6 separate regions of the Homo sapiens genome follow, and all the other regions are linked to region 5. The links are contacts of gene promoters, found by promoter capture Hi-C in blood cells and fetal thymus (Javierre and others, 2016). All regions are on one chromosome and are shown on one strand. The core of a region is centred on a gene start or on the middle of the fragment in contact, and the rest is flanking DNA. Distances in the headings are between cores, read along the strand shown.

The links. Contacts are between HindIII fragments. The CHiCAGO score rates a contact against its expected background, and 5 or more counts as called.
Region 1: a contact is called between the fragment with the promoter of KYNU here and the fragment with the promoter of SPOPL in region 5, in 3 of 17 cell types (total B cells, M1 macrophages and M0 macrophages). The highest score is 12.3, in total B cells.
Region 2: the fragment with the promoter of CCNT2-AS1 here is called in contact with the fragment with the promoter of SPOPL in region 5 in 6 of 17 cell types (total B cells, non-activated CD4 T cells, total CD4 T cells and 3 more); the score reaches 11.3 in total B cells.
Region 3: a fragment that was not itself captured here is called in contact with the fragment with the promoter of SPOPL in region 5 in 2 of 17 cell types (total B cells and M0 macrophages); the score reaches 9.7 in total B cells.
Region 4: the fragment with the promoter of MAP3K19 here is called in contact with the fragment with the promoter of SPOPL in region 5 in 1 of 17 cell types (total B cells); the score reaches 8.6 in total B cells.
Region 6: a fragment that was not itself captured here is called in contact with the fragment with the promoter of SPOPL in region 5 in 1 of 17 cell types (naive B cells); the score reaches 6.4 in naive B cells.

Annotation. Positions count from the first base shown.
Region 1 is chr2:142,875,553-142,879,426 of GRCh38, forward strand. KYNU (kynureninase) reads left to right here and starts at 2,112. Exons shown (of 14, transcript NM_003937.3): 1 at 2,112-2,184. The HindIII fragment of the contact is 4,288 bases long and covers 1-2,187 here.
Region 2 is chr2:134,916,511-134,920,187 of GRCh38, forward strand. CCNT2-AS1 (CCNT2 antisense RNA 1) reads right to left here and starts at 2,096. Exons shown (of 5, transcript NR_036549.1): 1 at 2,053-2,096. It overlaps CCNT2 (cyclin T2), which reads left to right and starts at 2,312. Exons shown (of 9, transcript NM_058241.3): 1 at 2,312-2,502; 2 at 3,300-3,381. The coding sequence starts at 2,345. RefSeq lists enhancers at 1,222-1,271, 1,281-1,954, 2,032-2,191, 2,342-2,611, 2,822-2,911 and a silencer at 1,952-2,021. The HindIII fragment of the contact is 7,926 bases long and covers 1-3,677 here.
Region 3 is chr2:142,859,398-142,862,832 of GRCh38, forward strand. No RefSeq gene overlaps it. Among named protein-coding and RNA genes, the nearest start is that of KYNU, 17 kb to the right of the region's middle. The HindIII fragment of the contact is 1,619 bases long and covers 1,209-2,827 here.
Region 4 is chr2:135,045,960-135,049,550 of GRCh38, forward strand. It overlaps MAP3K19 (mitogen-activated protein kinase kinase kinase 19), which reads right to left and starts at 1,488. Exons shown (of 13, transcript NM_025052.5): 1 at 1,226-1,488. The HindIII fragment of the contact is 2,914 bases long and covers 1-1,900 here.
Region 5 is chr2:138,499,665-138,503,083 of GRCh38, forward strand. It overlaps SPOPL (speckle type BTB/POZ protein like), which reads left to right and starts at 2,106. Exons shown (of 11, transcript NM_001001664.3): 1 at 2,106-2,455. It overlaps SPOPL-DT (SPOPL divergent transcript), which reads right to left and starts at 2,031. Exons shown (of 2, transcript NR_187149.1): 1 at 1,655-2,031; 2 at 1-1,216. RefSeq lists silencers at 2,002-2,541, 2,742-2,791. The HindIII fragment of the contact is 5,215 bases long and covers 1-3,419 here.
Region 6 is chr2:143,109,994-143,113,588 of GRCh38, forward strand. No RefSeq gene overlaps it. Among named protein-coding and RNA genes, the nearest start is that of ARHGAP15, 18 kb to the right of the region's middle. The HindIII fragment of the contact is 563 bases long and covers 1,961-2,523 here.

The DNA.
Region 1 (3,874 bases), core at 862-3,361, 4.4 Mb after region 5:
GAGGGAGGAGCAAAGGAAACAGAAATTTATGTTGAGCAGGGTAGCTGAATATATATATTCAATAAGCTATAGGGGAAGCCATGAATATTTGTGAAAGGAGAAATGTGCACATGCACAATGGAGTTTCATGCTTCTCCATGGGATCCGTGTTCAAAAAATGACAGCATTAATACAATCTGAGGGGGCAGTTTTCAGCCCAATGTGAAGCAGAGGACATGAAAACCTTTACTGCACATTCTCCATAGACTAGCCAGAAACATTCCATGATCAGTATTTTCTTTTTGTTCCAAACCACAAAAGAGAGGGATAACACCAGGTGATGGTTGATGTCATTGGTGTAATCTTTTGAAATGACTGGTTTCTTTTTAGCCATAGGGCAGAAAGCCTAATCATAGTTAGTGATGGAGCGGGTATGTGTTCCACTTCCTATCCTGTCATGGCCAAAAACTTAGTTTTCAAGTTTACTCTGGGATCCCCTTGGCCAAGAGCGTGTCCGTTCAGTTAATCTAGGGGCTTGGGATTTTATTTTTATTCCTCAAATGTAACAAATTTAAAGAAAGAAAGAAATTTATAAAACATAAGAAATAGAAGTATAGCTTAGACCTCCAAGCAAGTTCTTTAAAGGTGACAAGTTAAACAGTAGTTTTTAAGATAATATTTTGATGAAATTTTTAATCATATTATTACAAGATTTTAGAAGAAGCAAGATCTTGTGAAAACAAAACCTTAATGTCCATATCTAGCTCTCTAAATCTATAGTCAGTCTTTAAAAGAGTGACACAAAAATGACACAGATCCGCCCTCTGGTTCGCTCCCCATATATTAGAGCCTGGTAATCTTCCAAAGTTTTTACAGCATGAGGCATACACAGAATAGATGCAAAAAAAGTACACCTTCTGAAATTTCCTGAATGGATTCAAACTTTTACTATTCTAAGTTAATCAATTGGTAGTCTACTTACTTTATAGGATTATTGTAAGGATAGGATCAATGAAGTGAAATATATTTTATTTTCACTGGTCAATTACTCGTATTAAAGCAATTTCATGCACTTTATCTCCCTCTCTTGGAAACTGGAGAGTAGTACTTTTTGTCTGGTTACTTAAGATTAAAAAAAAGACAATATGTCACTTTTGACTTGAGTGTCATGGTATCTATGGCCTTCAACCTGCATGGTTTTATCGTTTCAGTAATCTTGGGAGGAAGGTATTATTAAGTTCATTTGATAAATAGGAGACTGAGCCTCCACAAGGGTTAAGTGAATTGCTCAGGGTTATACAATGAACACTTGATAGAAATGATTAAATGACACTTTACTTGATTTGTTGTGGGTTACTAAATAAAGCATAGGTGTGCATAAGTCATTCAATTATTCAAGCACATTCTTCATCCCTAGTCCTAATATCGAAAGTCTTTGCTCTTAGTTTTTATAACTACAAGGATATTCATCAAAAGACCCAAGCTCAGGAATAAGCCTAAAGAGGTAGTCAGACTAGAACAAAAGACAATTCACAGACTTAAATGAATAATTTGCATTAATGAAGTTTGCCAGGCTAGTTTCCACTTGAATCTTCAGATCTTTCTTCCTTCATTGTCTTGTTAACTGTCCAGATTTATTACCTAGGAGTTTTTGAAAACTCACATATTAGGCAATAGAGTGTATTCTGGAATTGAGAGCCTATTTTAAACTTTTGACTAAAAAGTTTACCCATTAAATGTCATAGATTCAACCATCAGACTGAAAATCCTCAGTGTATTTGAAGGAGGGTATTGTCTCAAAAATCCAGAGCTCAAAGTGAAGAAGAAAGGCAAAATTTGGAATTTAGCTCTAAGACCAACTCATCAGTTCAGGGGTCAGAGATTTATATAGTTAAAGGACAAGTGTGTGTTTACCTGAGTTTAAAGAGCAAAGTTGCCTCTGGAAAGAAGCCCTCACTGGAGGCTCTGGCATTTGAAATGGTGGGCAGGAGCACATGTTGCTTAAATTTCTGACAGTGGCTGGAGATTACCGATTGGTTAGGGGAGAGGAAGTAAAGTAAAATATTTATAAATTCTCCACTGGGTGGAGTCTGAGCAGTTCTTTGAATTTCTCACCCTAAGATCTGGCCTGTACATTTTCAAGGAATTCTTGAGAGGTTCTTGGAGAGATTCTGGGAGCCAAACACTCCATTGGGATCCTAGCTGGTAAGCTTGAGGCGCTGATAAAAACTCTCTACCCTAATGTTTACTCCATGTTTTTTCCAAATGAAACTTCTGTCAGCTAGAATCCTTGTCATAGTGTTTTAGAGGTTTTTTTCTGCTACTCTCTTCTTTTTTTATATATATTCTTTTTGTAAATAAAAATGGTATGACCTTCCTAAAGGCCCCACCTTTAGAAATGGGTTAAATGAAAAGATCTTTACTAATGTAATAGAAAAGAACTGATGAACATAGTGCACTGAATATGGTTACATTTGACAAACCAAAGTTAGTCCTGTTCTTATTTGAGTTTAAGCGGTAAGATTAGGTCAAACTCCAGACGAGGGAAAGATATTCTTAAACAGATTTTAAGTCCTCTGTTTTCTGGTAACTTTAATTGTCTTATGCTGCTAGTAGTCATATTAAATATTTATTTAGAGAAGTGAAAATGCCTACTCTTGAACAGAGTTTCTTCCCCTTTCATTTTATGAAACCTAAGAAAAGAAAGTTGATACACTTTTTAAAAATATACTAGATTTTCTTTTTTCCTTTCTGCTTTTATTTTGAGGCCAGTGGGGTGTTATTTAGTAGTAACACTGAAGCAAATGTATTGATTTTCTTAACGTGTTCAGCAAGTAATTCATATCCTAGATATGAAATATACACTCGTAGCAGAGTAATGTTACCCATTTCTCAATGATATGCTTAAAGAATCTTGCTCAATATGCATATTGTTTTTCCTTTTTTCTTTACTAATGAAAAACTACACGCTTTCTCAACATATTTTTAAGTCAGGTTCTAAACTTTGAACTCCTATGTACAATTTGCTTATTTCAGGCATGAATGTGAAACTGTGTAAAGATTAACTACCAGACACTCAGTCATTTATTTAACTATTTAGCCCTAAATCAGTGGGTGACTAGGAGATTCTGAATTCTGTGATTTCGTTAAAATCAATCAGTTTTTAATTATTATACAAGCTTTTTACTTTAAAGTTGTAGCTGTCTAAATAAAATTGTGAAAGCACAATTTCCAAACCTAAATCGAAGGCACATTGATGCTGTCCATCAGAAGGTATTGATAATTTAAAAAAATATTACAAACTATCTTTTATCTTTTTATAAAGGACCTAATGTCATTTGAGCTTAACCATAATCCTTTGAAGAAAGTAAAATTTAACTTTAAATAACATTGACATACAGAGCAGTTAGGTGATTTGTCTGAGACCATATGGTATGTATGTCCCCCGTCTTGATAAAATTAACACTAAATATGTAACATTTGAAAATTTGTAAAATATGTAAAAGTTGAAGTTTTTAAAAGTTTGGATTTAAGTTCTTCCTTTCAGAATATGAGCATGTCACTTTATTTGCAAACTAAACATGGCATAACATTATGGCTTGTGAACACTAATTGTCTTAGCTGCTGGGGTGAATGCAGAATTAAGCAGCAATTAGTATGAGTGAATAAATTGCATCCTTAGAGTGAGTGCACTATGCTATTCTGGGAACTAAAGACTATATTTGAGACCATGCGAAGTTGTGCAAGTGGTGGAGTAGGGCAGGGTGCAGTCATTTGGAAGACTATGCCCATCAGGTATCTCAAGGTACCCCAGATGTGACAGGCCCAGGAGCGGAACCAGCCACTTTAACTTTTGCCTGGCTGAAACTGGACTGGGAAGGATGGATTAAAAAGG
Region 2 (3,677 bases), core at 846-3,345, 3.6 Mb before region 5:
TTGGCGCATTTCAGATTTAGAATTTTTGGATTAGGATGCTCAATGGCTAAGTTTATAATTCAAATATTTCAAAACCTAAAAAAACCTGAAATCCAAAACACATCTGGTCTCAAGCATTTCAGATACGTGATACTCAACCTGTATTACTTTGGGAGACGGTACTATTGTAAATGGCATTTTTAAATTATAAATTCCAATTGTTCATTGCTGGTGTATAGGAAAACTGACTTTTGTATTCAACCTTATATCCTAAAATTTTACAGAAGAAGTTTTATGTCTTCCTTCCCAATATGTATATACTTTTAATTTACTTTTCTTGTTAGCTAGAACACCCAGTACCACGTTGAAAAGACTGGTGAGAGGGGACATGCTTGCCTTGTGTCAGACTTTAGGTGGAAAGAATGTAGTTTCTCACAACAGAAACAATCTATTGTTAGCTGCAGAATTTTTGTAGATGCTCTTTATCAAGTTGAGGAAGTTCTCCTTTATTCCCAGTTTGCTGAGTTTTTATCATGAATGGATGTTGAGGATGGGCACTTCTTTTATTTGTGTGTGTGTGTGACAGGATCTCACTCTGTCACCCAGGCTGGGGTGCAACCTCACCTCTCAGGTTGAAGCGATACTCCCAAGGAGCTAGGACTACAGACGCCACCACATCCAGCTAATTTTTTAAAAAACTTTTGTAGAGGTGGGGTCTCATTATGTTGCCCAGGCTGGTCTAGAACACTTTGGCCTCCCAAAGTGCTGGGATTACAGCCGGGAAACACTGCACCTGGCCAAGGGTTTGCACTTTTAAAATGTTGCTTTAAATCAATCTATTCCAGAAATTGTAAGCAACATAAAACGTAAAGCAAGGGAAGTGAGTATGAAATAGCAACTGTTACAAAAACTGCCTACTATAATCAATATTCTTGTGCAATGCAGTATGCTGAGCGTGGGAGCCCCATAACAATCACTTGCCTCCATGGTCTTTGGCAAATAGATATTACTTTATTTTTTATTTTCGAGACAAGGTCTTGCACTATCGCCCAAGCTGGGGTGCAGCAGCGAGATCTAGCTCACCGCAGCCTCCACCTCCTGGGCTCAAGCCATCCTCCCACTTCAGCCTCGGGAGTAGCTGGGACTACAGGCGCGCCACCAAACCTGGCTAATTTTTGTATTTTTGGTAGAGACGGGGTATCGCCATGTTGCCCTTGCCCTCGAACTCCTGACCTCAAGTGATCGGCCCACTGGACCTCCCCAAGTGCTGAGATTACAGGCGTGAGCCACCGTGCCCGGCCTCCAAATAGTTAAGACTTTAAACTTAGAAACCCTATTCACAACACAAACTCCGAGTGAAGCTCAGTGGCATTTTCTTACAGGAAGAAATACAGGAGTTAATCAACAGGTATGTGGGATGTTCCCACATCAAATCCTAAAGATAAAATTTTAACTCAGTTCCTCCTGCACTATCTGATTCTCCCCAACCTTGTCTCGCAGAAACCACAGCGCAGCCTGAAAACACGCCCCGTCTAGATTCAACACCTCATTTAGAAATTCAATTTCTCGTTGCTAGTTGGATAGCGTTTGCCAAGTAATTTGAAAAAATAAAAATAAACCAAGTGGTCTGGGATTTAAACAAGATAATGTAGGGTGAAAAAAGCACTCAGGTGCGGACAGCCATGGAGCGTGACTTCCTGTGCACTCTTTCCCCGCCAGCTCAACGCCAGAGCCGCGCGCTAGGCGGAGACTGTTGGTGGCGGAGGCCGGAGTCGCACGCCTACGAGACTGCGCGGACCCGCCCAAAAGGAAAATGGAAGTAGTGGCGTGAGGCTGCGACAGTGAAGGTTATTTTTCTCTTTTTAAAGGGCCGCTAGACCTCCCGTCTAAAGGAAGCGCCCGACGGGCCTCCGAAGTACACGCCCAGGCCCCCACAGCGCAGCCGCCCGACCGCCTCTCTTCACACCGGCCAGAGTCCACCCTCTCCCACTTTCCCCTCCCCTCCCCTCCCCGCCCCTTCCCTCCCCACCCCTTCGCCCCGCCAACCCTAGACCCGGCATGCGCTGCGCCGACCTTTTCCTTCCGAGCCGACCTCTCCACCTTCGGCGCCTCCCAATGACAAGCGGCGCGGAGCATTGTGGTCCCGTGCGCAAGAGCGAGGCCGAGGGCAGAAAAAGAAAGCAAAAGACTAGGGCGAGTCGGTAGAGCGGGCCCCGCGCATGCGCAAGGGCGGAGGCGGTGGTGAAAAAGGGTGGTGCGTGGTCTACGGCGAGCGGAGTGGGGCGGGGTCGCGCGCCTTGGCGGGGAGTCCGCGAGCCAGGAGGGGCGGGGGGTGAATGAAGGAGCGGGCGGAGGAGGAAGTGTCATGGCGTCGGGCCGTGGAGCTTCTTCTCGCTGGTTCTTTACTCGGGAACAGCTGGAGAACACGCCGAGCCGCCGCTGCGGAGTGGAGGCGGATAAAGAGCTCTCGTGCCGCCAGCAGGCGGCCAACCTCATCCAGGAGATGGGACAGCGTCTCAATGTGTATCCTTTTCTGTTCGCCGCCGCTCACGCCCTGTTTCCCTTGCCCGGTCGCCGGGCCTGGTGCCCCGCGAACATGGCGCCGCCGGCCTCGGCCTTCGCTGGGCCTCGGCGCCGCGGTCAGGGAAGTAATGTTCCGGCTCGGGCAGTCGCGAGGGGTCAGCAGAGGAAGGGAGGAGGAGATAGGACCCCAGGAATGCGGGCCAGGAGCCTGCGTTGTGTAATCTGTTTGGGGCAGCGCGTGGTGGTGGCGGCGGGGGTTGGGAGTGTGGCTCAGGCGAAAGAGGAATTTTAGGGATTATTGCAGAAAAGGGGCGGCTCCCTGGACTTGTCCCTGACCCCGAAGGGTTTGAGAGGTAGGAGGGTTAGCGATGCTGAAAGGCCTAAGTGTTTGCCGCAGCCTTTCCCGGCTCTCGTCGCCGGCTTGATGGCGGCTCTCTTCTACCTTGGGAGCGTACTGGAGTTCTTTATGTTCTTGGCGTGGTTTTGTATGGGTGTGTGCGCGCGCGTTTCAACTGTTTCATTTTGAGTTTAGTTAGTCGTAGCCATTGATAAATAGTTCCAGGGCCCTCAGCGCTGTTAGAGTGAAAAGATCAGCAGTTCTTATTCCCATTTATTTGGCGTCAAGCCTATTCTCTTCCTGCCGCCCCACCCCCCGCGGGCATTTATTTCTTTATTTCCAGTTTGGGGTTTGGATTTGAATGGGAGGTATTGGAAAAGAACCTGGGAATTTTCCATCAAAATTGTTCTGGGAATGAGATCTTGCTTTTGTCAGATATTTCCTAAATATTACGTTCCAGCTCTCAGCTTACAATAAACACTGCGATTGTTTATATGCACAGGTTTTATATGCACCATTCTTTCACCAAATTCAACAAAAATGTAAGTACTAGTTGTCTGTTTTTACTGTCCGCAAATTTGAGGGTAAATCGATACGCAGAAAAAAAGTTGGTCATTGCGTTGTTGGATTTAGTGTTCTGAATTAACGGTAAACGTATATCACGTGATAAATATTTTGCTTCAGATGCGGTGTTTTTGTGTTTTTAAAATTTATGATGAATTAAACTGCAAGGCACTGTTAAGCTCTGCCAGGCCTTTTAAGCTAAAAAAGAAAAACATTTATTTCTTTACAGAGTTATTACATAGGTTTTCTTCATTTAAATTCTATACTTAACATT
Region 3 (3,435 bases), core at 768-3,267, 4.4 Mb after region 5:
GCTTTTCTTTTATTATGTTGTCTATTATTGCAGTTTTGAGGACTATGTTGTGTGGAAGTCTTCCCACTTCCTCTCTTTTTCCCTCAATCTCTCTCTCTCCCTCTCGCAAACACATACACACATATATCTTATTTTCTTTCCTTTGATCCATTCCTAATCGAATTCCCTCTTAGAATAAGCATTGATTATTTCTTTCATAATCTGCATTCTTCCCAAACCACTGTCCATGCCATTATTTATACCCATGGGGATTTTTGAATAATATATAGTATATGCTTGTATGTTTTATGATCAAAATTGCATTATATACTACGTATCATGAAAATGTCATGATTGTGGTTTTTACTGAATATTTTACTTTTGATATCTCTGTCGATATAGATAGATATTATTCTTTCTACTGTTCTATAGTATTCCATCATATGCATATCACATATTGTGTCTCTTCATTTTCTTATGTTTAACATTTCTAATCTTTGTTATGGAAAACATGCTTATATGGACAATAGCCCACATTTCTCTTTGTAAGTGAAGAAGTGTTTCTGCGGGATCCAGTACAGATAGGGCTGATTTCCAGCTGGACAGGAAGAGCTCTATCTGTATCTCTGGAGGTGCCTAGAAGACTGGTTTTTGAACCTTTGCCAAGGAAGGGGCAATGGAATTCATGATATTCTGTTCAGGGTTTGAAACTTTCCTAGATACCCAAAGTTATCTTCCTTTCACTCTGTCACTCAGGCTGGTGTGCAGTGGTAGGATCTCAGCTCACTGCAACCTCGACCTCTCAGGCTCAAGCAATCCGTCCACCTCAGTCTCTGCACTAGCTGAGACTATGGGCATGCACCACAACGTCCAGCTAATTTTTTTTATTTTTTGTAGAGATGGCATTTTGCAGTGTTGCCCAGGCTGGTCTTGAACTCCTGGACTCAAGCAATCTGCCTGCCTTGGCCTCTCAAAGTGTTGGCATTACAGGAATGCACCACCACGCCAAGCCCAAAGTTAGCTTCTTTATTGTTGACTTTGTCTTAACCCATTGGATAAGCCTGATTTTACTATTTAAGGAGGCACTGAGAGCTTTTGAGGGGAGCTCTTCCAAAGACAAAATTCCTAGCACAGATCCTGGAAATTTGAATCAGAGACTCAGCTCAGTCCTAGAGCTCAAAGATAAGACCCCCAAGAGCTCATGCTGTAGGTATCTCTTGGATTTCCAAAGCTTGCCTGCATTCTTTAGATATTAGGTTGGTGCAAAAAGCCTTAAAAGCCTCAAGGAGGTCTGGTGAGACACTTTAAATAACTGATGTGGGAAAAAAACAATACAGATATATACCCAGGAGTAAAATTGCTGGGACATTGGGTATGTTCCTATTTAGTGTCAATAAACTGAATAAAGCTATTTATAATGGCTGTACTGGAACAGAGTGCAAAGTGGACTTCCTACTTTTCCACATTCTTTCCAGCTGTAAATATTATCTAAATTTTTAATTGTTAACAACATGATTCATATATTAAAATATTTCAGCATGCCTTTAACATGCACTTCTCTGATTTCTAAAGTGCCCATCTCTTTAAAAATGCATTAGCCATTCAGGTTTTCCCTTTGGGAATTGCTTATTTTAATTCCTTGGTCATTTTTCTATTGTGTCTTCTTTCTTCCCGAGGAGCTTCTTAAATATTCTAGATATAAATTTTTTCCTAATCTGTCACTTTCCTATTAACTGGGCCTATTATATCTCTACTTCAGTTTTCTGATTTGTAAAGTAGAAATAATCATACCTATAACTCTTTCTTTTTTTTGCCTCTAAGGATTAAATGAGATAATGAATGTGAAACACTAATACAACATCTGACACATAGTGAGGGTTCAATACCACCAGGGATTTATTAAGCCTCTTTCTTTTTTATATATACTTTAAGGTTAAGGGTACATGTGCACAATGTGCAGGTTAGTTACATATGTATACATGTGCCATGTTGGTGTGCTGCACCCATTAACTCGTCATTTAACATTAGGTATATCTCCAAATGCTATCCCTCCCCCCTCCCCCCACCCCACAACAGGCCCCAGTGTGTGATGTTCCCCTTCCTGTGTCCATGTGTTCTCATTGTTCAATTCCCACCTATGAGTGAGAACATGCGGTGTTTGGTTTTTTGTCCTTGCAATAGTTTGCTGAGAATGAGGGTTTCCGGCTTCATCTATGGCCCTACAAAGGACATGAACTCATCATTTTTTATGACTGCATAGTATTCCATGGTGTATATGTGCCACATTTTCTTAATCCAGTCTATCATTGTTGGACATTTGGCTTGGTTCCAAGTCTTTGCTATTGTGAATAGTGCCGCAATAAACATACATCTCCATGTGTCTTTATAGCAGCATGATTTATAATTCTTTGGGCATATACCCAGTAATGGGATGGCTGGGTCAAATGGTATTTCTAGTTCTAGATCCCTGAGGAATCGCCATACTGACTTCCACAATGGTTGAACTACTTTACAGTCCCACTAACAGTGTAAAAGTCTTCCTATTTCTCCACATCCTCTCCAGCACCTGTTGTTTCCTGACTTTTTAATGATTGCCATTCTAACTGGTGTGAGATGGTATCTCATTGTGGTTTTGATTTGCATTTCTCTGATGGCCAGTGATGATGAGCATTTTTTCATGTGTCTTTTGGCTGCATAAATGTCTTCTTTTGAGAAGTGTCTCTTTTCAAATTGAATTGATATTTTGTTGTACCTAGATATATGTATAAATTTAGGAAATTTAAGTTTAATCTAGATTTAAACTAAGTGGTTTTCCAGTAGCATATAAAATCTTAGGCTAGACACCTTAAGCTTAGCATGTAGACTACAGTGATAGACAAAGATGTGCTGGGAAATCAGGAGCCTTACTCTGTTCTTGAACCCACATTAGCCGGGCACTCCTGCCTGTGTGGGAAAGAGACCCTGTCCTTAAATCTGACCTCCCTTTCTGCATCAGGTACCTGACCTGCCGATGACAAAGGGATTCACAAAAGTACCCATTAAATCTATATGTTTATATTTTCAAAACTGTGACACTTTCATCATCATTACTCTACTCTAGCCCTTCCTGCAGGGTTTATTACCCAGGTTGTCAAAATATTTTGAAAAAGACATCGTGAAACACAACGTCTATGTTGTATCTGATTTCCTTTCCTGAAGAAAAACAAGCCTAGAAGGGAAAGGAAAAAAAATGTACTGCTAATATCATGATAGGGAGTAAAATAATTCATAAATTGATGAGTCAAGATGTGTTTTCTAAAATTTGCATTATAGATATTAGCAAACAGAGATAGATATGAAAGACAGTGGAGCAATTGGAATGTTTTTAAATGTGCATGGCATATTTTTTAGTAGAAAGTTTTCCTTTCAGTTGCTAAACAAATTCTCTAAACATTAAAAATATTTCAGAAGTTATCA
Region 4 (3,591 bases), core at 238-2,737, 3.5 Mb before region 5:
TCTCATCCAGGCTGGAGTACAGCAGCTTGATCATAGCTCACTGCAGCCTCAAACTCCTAGGTTTAAGGGATCCTCCCACCTCAGCCTCCCAGATAACTAGGGCTACAGGTGCACAGCACTATGCCCCGCTAGTTATTTTTATGTTTTATTTTTGTAGAGACAGAGTCTCACTATGTTGCCCAGGCTTAGTCACAAACCCACAGTGCTTTTTATTATTGAGCTCTATTTCCTCTTCCAACCTTCAATCTGTACATGTCCATTTTAGGTTTTTTTCATAAGAAAATATTTCTCAATTTTCCATTTAGAATTGTTGTTGTTATTGTTGTTGTTGTTGTTGTTACAGAGTCTCCCTCTATCGCCCAGACTGGAGTACAGTGGCACAATCTCGGTTCACTGCAACCTCCGCCTCCTAGGTTCAAACAATTCTCCTGCCTCAGCCTCCCAAGTAGCTGGGATTACAGGCACCTGCCACCTTGCCGGCTAATTTTTGTATTTTAGTAGAGACAGGGTTTCACCATGTTGGGCAGGCTGGTCTCGAACTCCTGACCTCAGGTCATCCACCCTCCTTGGCCTCCCAAAGTGCTAGGATTACGGGCATGAGCCACCATGCCCGCCCCATTTAGAACTGTTTTGGTCAATGATTTTTGAGGAATAGTGTTTCATTCCACAGAGGTTTTTAGTTTAGCATCTATTAAAACCCAGTCTTTTTTATTTTTAATTGCATGCATGGTTTATCTATTTGTAAAACCAAAACCTTTTGTTATAGTGTACATTTGATTTAGAACCTTATGCAATAAAGATTTAAAGCAACAGAAATCTCATTTCATGTTGAGAAAGCATGGTTAAGAACATATGTATACAATATTGATTGGTTACAAGAAGATTCATACCATGTAAAGTTTACACATATTTGGGTGATTAAACTAAAAGATTACCCCTAGGTATAATTCAATGAAGGCAAGTGTTTTTCATACACTTTTCTTGTCATTAGTAATTTAGCCTATGGTCTAGAGGTGCCTGCATAAGTATTGGAGGAAATCGTCACAATATTTGAAAAGTAAAAAATAGTTTATTACAACTCCAAGGATATTATTATTTGAGATTAGGACACAGTTTCTTCTATCAGTTTACCAGGCATTCCTCCTCTGGGACATCCTTTGGGGAGTAAAAAAGTTGCAACATACAGTTTATCTAAAATGAGATGAAAAGCAGAGATTCGGCTTACCTGTGCTGTGTTTTGCTGAGGGACGTGGCACACAGTTGAAGAAACACCAAGCCAAACAGTAGCCAACATCATCCTAATTCATTGTGGCACTGATTTCTGGGACAGCTGTAACCCACACTTCAACCAGGGATCCATTTAAAAACAGCATAGATTCAGATTTTTTTTTCAGTGTTGTACAGCCCAAATAATTTTTCCTTTTAAATTTTGTCTTTAATTAAGCTGGTCCTGCATGCACAAACCCTTTAGTTAGCTGCAAATAGACTGCTTAGTTTACAGGTTGTCTCCTAGGCAACCATCCACTGTGCATTTAGCTTAGAGAATTGAAAGCAGGACAGTCTCATCCAGGAAGGAAAACAAGTTTTGTATGCTCTTCCAAGTTGTTGCTTAAGTGCTTTAAAACTACCAAACCCCTATGTACTTCCATGGTTGGCACAATTACTGTGATCACCTGATGCACTGAGACTTTCTCTAAGAGATCCATGCCTTTGTAATCCCCACAAGGTGCCAGAAGGGCCCCTTTCAAAGCTGCATATAGGTCACAGAGTGAGAATCCAATCGATTACCACCAAACTGATTGCATTCTTAGACTCAGCCTTGAGAAAGCGCTAGCAGACAGAAATCCTTACATTACAACATACTTCTTCTCTAGATATGCTTGTGATATTCTGAAGCAAAAGCTTCAGTAAACAGACTGCATTTTTGTCTGAGTCCAGTGGTAATAAACCCAACTGCAAAAGACTTCAAATCATGGACTATGAAAACATAATCATGAGGAAGTGGACACAGGGCACTCCATAAGGTCACCCGGCATTTGTGTGCTGCTAAATTCTTTTCTGCCACTTACCAAAGGATGCAGGGGTTTCTCTTCTAAGGTAGGGCGTAACATTATATATTCTCAACTGAATGGGGTACGATATTCTATCGCAATAACAACAGCTGACATTTATTGACTAGTTCCTACGTTAGTCCATAAAGGACATGATTAATGTCATTTAACCCTCATAACAACTCTATGGAGTTGAAACAATAAACAGCATCATTGCCACGTTACAGAAGATGACACTGAGGCTTAGAACTTTTGAGCTAATGAATGGTGGAGCTAGGGATTGAACCTAAGCGGCCTGGCCACAATGTTGCAATACTACCTTTACCATGCGCAAGCACGTACACACACACACACACACACACACTCTCTCTCTCTCTCTCTCTCTCTCTCTCCTTTAGTGGATGAAGACTTCAGGGTAAAAACCATTCAGAGATTGTTAGATCTACGTAAACTCCCTCATTACCAATTCAACTTCAAGCTGCTTGACACCAATTTAAGCACACACAGGCTATTACTCTGTTTTGCTTCCTATGCTCTACTTTGCTTCTACTCCCATCAAGGTGAGTACTCTCTCAGCCTAACAGAGGAAGGTGCAAGTACCGTAGTTTCTGACTTTTAGGATTTCTGCCAGGTTATCCTAGGGTTCCAGCTTGTCTGCAATCCATGAATCTTTAAATTGGCTTCTCAAAAAGTAATCCTGGCCAGATGTGGTGGCTCACACCTGTAATCCTAGCACTCTGGGAGGTTGAGGTGGGTGGATCACCTTAGGTCAGGAGTTCCAGACCAGCCTGGCCAACATGGTGAAACCCCATCTCTACCAAAAATAAAAAAATTAGGCCAGGCGTGGTGGCTCACACCTGTAATCCCAGCACTTTGGGAGGCTGAGGTGGGTGGATCACGAGGTCAGGAGTTCGAGACCATCTTGGCTAACACGGTGAAACCCCGTCTCTACTGAAAATACAAAAAAAATAACCGGGTGTGGTGGCAGGCGCCTGTAGTCCCAGCTACTCGGGAGGCTGAGTCAGGATAATGGCGTGAACCTGGGAGGCGGAGCTTGCAGTGAGCCGAGATCGCACCACTGCACTCCAGCCTGGGCGACTGAGCAAGACTCCATCTCAAAAAAAAAAATTAGCCGGGTGTGGTGGCTAGTGCCTGTAATCCCAGCTACTCGGGAGGCTGAGGCAGAATTGCTTTGAACCCAGGAGGCGGAGGTTACAGTGAGTCGGGATTGTGCCACTGCACTCCAGCCTGGGTGACAGAGTGAGCAAGACTCCGTTCCCACCCCCCCCAAAAAATGTAATCTTCTGGCTATGCGCAGTGGCTCACGCCTGTAATCCCAGCACTTTGGGAGGCCAAGGTAGGAGGATTGCTTGAGCTTAGTTGTTTGAGACCAGCCTGAGCAACATAGTGAGACCATGTCTCTGCAAAAAATAGAAAAAATTGCTGGACGTGGTGGTGGGCACCTGTAGTTTCAGCTACTCAGGAGTCTGAGGCAGGAGGATTGGTTGAGTCCAAGAGTTTGAGGCTGCAGTGAGCTATG
Region 5 (3,419 bases), core at 856-3,355:
GGGTGACATACTACGAAGGGATTGAAAGAGCTAAAAGGCTTAGTCAAAAATTACATGTAATTTTTGCTGTATGTCACATACCATAAAGTTAACACGGGTGGACAGTGAGTATAGCAAATCGTTTCAACTGTTCTTTGCTGGTGTTTGGAGATGGTTAAATGTTTACACAAATATTTCCTCTCTCCACCAACTCTTTCCCCATTCCCTAATGCTCACTTCCACTTCTGTTTTTTAACTTTTGGAGTTCCTTGATCTGCATAAACATTCTACCAACTCAGCCCAAGGCAACTTTGAATTTTATGGTTACATTGCTAATTTTATCTTTATCTGAAAACCTTTGGCACAGATTTTGTCTTAAAGCACGTTTTGTCTTAAATAAGTCAACAGGATTGCTAACGTAAGGTCAGGTGCTAATCCCAGCATTTTGGGAGGCAGAAGTGGGAGGATCACTTGAGGCCAGGAGTTTGAGCCCAGCCTGGGCAATATGGTGAGACTCTGTTTCTACTAAAAATACAAAAATTAGCCGGGCTCACGCCTGTAGTCCCAGATACTTGGTGGCTGAGGCACAGAATTGCTTGAATCTGGGAGGTGACCCAGGATCGCGCCACTGCACTCCAGCCTGGCGTACAAAGCGAGATCCTGTCTCAAACAAACAAAAAGAAAAAAGAAATAAAAAAGACAGCTAATGTAGTATTAATTTGAAATGAGGGGGATCTGCCTGTCCAGTATTCAAATCCCAGTAACCTCTGGATGAATTACTTGCCATTTCTAGTTCTTGTCGCTTAATTTTAAGATGGAAATTTCTACGTTGAAGTTTTAGAGAGGTTGTTGAGAGAACAGAGACGATACAAGTCCATGCTTAGAATACTCAGTACATAGCAAAATAATAAATATTTTCCCTCTGCCCTCTCTCTTTTCTTGGAAAGCCAGGTAAGCAATGAGAAGTTGGTTTATGGCCAGGTGTGGTGGTTCACGCCTGCAAATCCCAGCACTTTGGGAGACCAAGGTGGGAGGATCCCTTGAGCTCAGGAGTTCGAGATCTGCTTGGGCCACATAGCAAGACCTCGTCTCCACAAAAAATTAAGATTACCTGGGCGTGGCACATTCCTGTAGTCCCAGCTACGGGAGGCTGAGTTGGGAGGATCACTTTAGCCTAGGAGGTCGAGGCTGCAGTGAGCTGTGATGGCACCACTGCACTCCAGCCTGGGTGACAGCCCTGTCAAAAACAAAACAAAACAAAAATTGCTGACGTATGCACAGTTAAAGCAAAAAGAGTTGGGATCCTTGAATGACGTTCATGTCTGTTCTGGCAAAGCCGGGATTGTTGGTCCCCCAAACTTCTTTAAAGAAGTTTACTCCTGGTAGCTCGATTAAGTATCTTTGTCCCATGGCCGTGGGGAATAAAAAGTTCAGTTGTCACCCCCTTTTTAAACTAAATGTCCGAAGAGACAAGGCAATCCCATCCTCTCTTCACACATTTGTGCAGGTGCAGCTTTATTTCCCACCGTGCGGTCCCAGGAGGCCGCCTGGTCTTCTGCGCTCACTTCCTAGGCATCCCTGGCCGCCCCTCGGCAGCCTCTCCTTCTGGCCTGAGACTTCCAGCTGAGCCTCATCCCCTCCACCTGAAAACTGCTCCATGGGGCACTTCATCTACCTGGAAAGTTCTCGATTTCCAACTGGAGCCTGTATACTGCTGGTTGTGTCTCAGCAGTTATTACAGCTCTGGGCTTACAACGGGAGCTTAGCAAAAGTTCCACCCTGGCTTCCTAGACTGCTACAGCTCCAAGAAAAATCCTGTGCGCACAAACGGCCGCCGCCTTTGGCGTCTCCCGCGGATTAGACCAGTTAGGAGGTCTCAGTAGGCTTTTAGGCAGGACAAGTTTTACGCCTGGCCAAATAAGGGTCAGACTAAGCAAGGCGCCTCCGTGCGCCTAGCCAGAGCGGTGCCGGCTGCGGAACCTGCCCCGCCGGGAGCCTAGTGCCATGCAGCAGCGGCGGCGGTGGCGGCTTCCCAAGCGCGGCGGCAAATCCGGGCCCGCCCGGAAGTGCCCGGCGCTGTAGGAGGGAGCAAGGGCCCAGGAGCCGCCGCCGCCGCCGCCGCGCGCACGCGCCCTCGCGGGCTGGAGCCGGGGCTGGAGTCGTAACTCGGAAGCCGGAGCCCAGACGGGCCCGCGGCGGGGGGGTGGGGGCTGCGCGGGGGCGGGAGTGGCGGAGGTGGCCGCCCCTGGCGGCGGGTTTGTTTATCCCGGGGAAGAAGTTTAGGAGCGGGAGATAGGGAAGGAGGGCGGGTCGGGGAGGAGGGATGCGGTTCGGCGGAGGCGGCCGCCACAGGGACTTGCCGCCATCACCCCTGCTGCCACCACCGCAGCCTCGGGCTCCCAGGGCGGACACGGCCACCGCCTCAGCGGGAGAGGAGTCTCCACCAGGACTGACCGCTGCCGCCCAGCACGTCCAGGTAGGCGCCCCTTCCCCTCCCCCCAGTCCCCGCGGCAGCCCCAGGCGCTTGCTCCCCTCCCCCGGCTCTCCGTAGACCGGCGGCCTCCTGCTCGCGCCTCACTGCGCCCTCTGCTCTCTGGGTCCCGGACCCCTGCTCGGGCGGCGAGCTCCGGCCTGCTCTGGGGACTACCTCCCACGCCCCCGGACCGCCCTTCCCTCGCGCGGCGGCACCACTTTCCCCGGGGTTGCCCCCAATCCCTCCTTGATTTCCCAGCCTCCACCTTCCAGGATCCCCTTTAGTTTTACCCCCGGGCCTCGCCCCTTCTTTTCCTCTGGCTTCTCTCCTCCTCTATACCTGTATACCTCCACACCTGCCCCTTTTTACCTGAGTGCTGCCCAAAGGCAGAAACTGCATGCTCTGCCACCGCGCAGCGTCCACTTTCATACCTCCTCATCCCAAATACAGACACTTGAAACTCTCGTCCCTGTTAGCCCATTTTAGGCAGAGTTCTCAGCTTCGCAGACCGCTCACTACCTCCAGTCCGGTGGTCATGCCTTTAACCTCTCTTTAACCTGCTTTCTAATACATTTTTGCTCACTTATACCAGAGTACATCAAGCTAACCGCGCGGTTCGGGGTCCAAGTCTTCAAAGAGCCCACTTGTATTCCTGCTGCTCTCCTTTTTCCTAATTCTTTTTGAGTCAATGTATTTGTATATTGATTCAACATAAAAGAAAAGGGAAGGTAGCATTTTCTCTCTCAAAGCAGTCACACAACCCAGTAGAAATAAGATTCACCATCTGCTTATCCTAACTTTCGCTTGTCTCTTTCCTGACTGAACTCTGTCATTCAGTGATTCTTTCCAGGCTTCTGATGCTTTGTCTATTTTTGAATAATCTTGGGCCTAGTTTGACCCATTGTGGTACTCACTTTCCCACTTGCAATTGAATCCACTGTTTCTTGGACTAGAAACTGACAGAGGT
Region 6 (3,595 bases), core at 992-3,491, 4.6 Mb after region 5:
CATATAAACATGTGAATGGCCAATAGTACTAATTCTTCAGTAGGGCTGAAATGGTCCCCTACTTCTGAAATCAGTGAGGTCACCAAATTCGCATTTTAAAGATCCAATTTGTAGTGCGATAGTTGGAAACCTGGAAGGTGCAAAGTGGCAATTCTGTTGTCAAGTGGGTCAGCAAAAAGCCTTCTTAGTTTATAATACCATTGGAAAAAAAAGAGAGATGGCACAAATCTCACAACACTAGTTAATTAAATTAGGTACAGAAATGGAAAAGGAAAGAAAATCCAGATATTATTTAGTTTTCTGTAACTCTTTATAAAATTTGAAGTCTCTCAATGTCAACTTTTCATCATGACTTTATTTGCTAATGTCCTGGGACCATTCATATCAGAGTCTCCTTAACTCAAGGAGCATTGTAATATAAGAAGGGAGCTTGTAGAGCAAGCTGCTGGCCTTCTATTGTTTTGCCAGTCTAAATCTGCAGCATAGCCTGCTGGTGGGACTGGCACCAAGCCGGATGGGTACAAGGCTATAGTTGTTGTTTATGGGCAATGTCTCTTAATGATCAGTCATTGCCTATGCCTTACCAGTACTTAAATATTTTGTATATCACCCTTATCTGTTGGATCTGTTCATTGCCTTTGGGGCTAAATGAAAGAAGTAAATTATCTGAAACATAATCTCAAGTAAGCTGTACACAAGAAAATGGTAAATGCATTTTAAATATAGTAAATATTGCAATAAGTGAAACTCAGATATAAAAAGAATGGCATTAGTTCTCTACTATTCAATCTTTTGTCATGAAGTGGGCTAACTCAACCACAGGAAGCATGACTCAGGAGACAGTGTGTTCTACATTTCCAGTATTTTTTTCTGCCCAAATCTCTTCATATATGGCTGATCGAAGTAACCGAGTCTCCAACTAACTATAGAGCCATGTAACTGTGAGATTTCTGAATTTACAACCTCCCTACAGGAAGTACCAGGTGGCCACGAAAGGCAGCATGGTCCCCATCTCTAATTAAGCTAATGTAAACAAGTGCCACAAGATGGCGCCAAACCACAGATGAAACTGACGCCAATTTGGATTCTTTGGGTGGATGGATCTCCCAGAACTTCCAGCTGGCTAGATGACAGGATAGCCCTTGTGATTTCATTCATTAACCTTGCAATAATACAGTCTTAGGTTTTGCATGATTCTTTTTTATTATTTGGGTCTCATTTATCTTCTTTTAGAGGGATTGTACTATACAAATAAATAAAACAAGAGAGAGAGGAGATGGAGACACCGATCAGTAAAACCAAATAGGAAAGTTTGCATAATAAGATGTGGAAGAGACAGCAAGTTTGTTTGGACAGCCAAATGTCTACTAATTGTGAATGATGCCTATGATTAATTCTACAAACTGGAGAAGGGCTCAGCATTGATAATGCTATCAGTATTGGCAACATTTTCTTACTCTGTGACATTGCTTTGTATCAGCCAATATTTCAAGAAGTGTCTCCCTAAATTAAGTGAAATAATAAAAGTAGCCACAATCCATCCACCAAAATGGTATTTGTTAACACAGATAGTATGACGAATTTTTGATGGCTCTACTTTGATTTAAGAATAAAGAATGAGCACTTAGGAATGACATGATTTTAAACTGGACCTTGGCTTAACCACAGGATTTCACCTTCTTTTAACTCATTGATGTGTGCTTTTGTATACACATGCATCCATATATATATATATATATATATATGCTTATATATATATATGCTTATATATACACTTTTATGTAAACTCTAGACATACAGAGCTATTTTTTCATTAATAATGTAGGTTTTACTTGTTTATAGTTGAAGGTAGAGTATCTCACTAGATTTTGTATCGTCCTAGATTTTGTGATCTGTAAAGAAAAAAAAATCATACTGGTCACCTAAAATTAATACAACTTAATAATATAAAATTTACCTAAGCTTTCATTTTGGAGTCCAGAAACAGTGGCTTATCCATTAACCATTTTGCTCTTCTATGTTATGGAATCCCAATTTTCTTTTTGGCTGTCAGTGTGCCCAGCTTTTAAAAGACCACATTTATGAACTTTGTTTTCCTGGCCTATAGTGGTCTGTAACATAAAAGTAAAATTATTAAGTGAAACAACTAAGAGAGTGTTGTTTTGCTCATTTGCCTTTTATGCCCCCAAGGAACTCAGACATGAAGGCAGGAGCTAAGGCAGCTGTCTTGGCATCATGAGGGCAAAGATAAAGAGTCACAAACACCTGGACCCTTGCTATTCTAAGGCACTGAATCAGTGCCAGCAACGAACTAGTTTTAGATTCATTATGTAAGAAAAATAAACCCTATGTGTCTAAGCCACTGATATATTGCATTTTCTTTTGTAAGTAACTGAATACAATCCTAACTAATACAGAGAATAAATATCAATCATCTTTATATGATTGTCTTAAACATATAAGTGCGCTAAAACTAGATACCCATAAGTGTTTATTGAAATGAATTGAGCTAAGATTTTGCAAAGCTTTTTACAGCTGTAATGTTTCTAACTCAGTTTATAAGTAATGCTAATTTGAGCATTCCAAAAATGCAGTTAATTCAGTTATTATTTATTAGGCATTTACTACATGCCAGGCACTAAAGAAGATACTGGAGATACATATTGTAGACAATACAAAAAACCTACTTGATCTAATGGGGATGCACATTCTTGAAGAGGAAATGAAATGAATAAATAGAAAAATAAATAAAAAATTTAGTACCATGAAAAAGAAACAGAGAGACAAGATAGAAAATGTGGAACAAGATGTGACATTATATAAATAAGTTGAACAGTCAGTCAGAATTTCAAGCTGAAATTTGCAGAAACTAGCTATGGAAAATGTGGGAGCTGGGCATGAGGATGGGGTGCAGAGTCTCCGTAGCAAAGTAGACAGCTAGAGCAATGTCCTCCAGGAGGGAAGAGCTTGGCATATTTAATAACTGAAAGAAGAGATAGAGTGGGGACAGAGCAACACACAAAGGAGAGAATGCCTAATATGTTGTAAATGCTCAAGATATATTTGTAGAATAAACAAACATGACTACTGTAAAATAATTATGTCGATATAATTAATCAGTAATAATTAGGACTGAAGTTCAAAAAATACCATACGCTTAAATAGCTCTATTTTTGACTATAACTTACATTTTTTTTTCTTTTTCTTTCTTTTCTTTTATTTTTGAGATAGAAACATTGCCCTCAATCTTCCAGTGAGCCAATAAAGGTTTTACAATGAGTTAAGCATAGTAAGAAGATAGTATTGTTTCCCAAGAGCCACAATAGATTTTTTTTTATTGTATGGAAGGATAAATACATGTTTTCAGTTTACATAATCAAGCATATTTTAGAGAGTAAAAATGTAACTCAGCTGAAGAATCATTATCAGATTTTTTTTTAAACTGGAAACTTTCCCCCTGCCCCCAGCTGTCTACAGAAATAGATTATTTCTTCTAATTTTCTGATTTAGTTATAGTCATAGTGTACATAAAAACAGATTTGATTTTCTTGGAATCAAACATAAAATGAAAGCCAAGGCCTTATCATTGAAACAA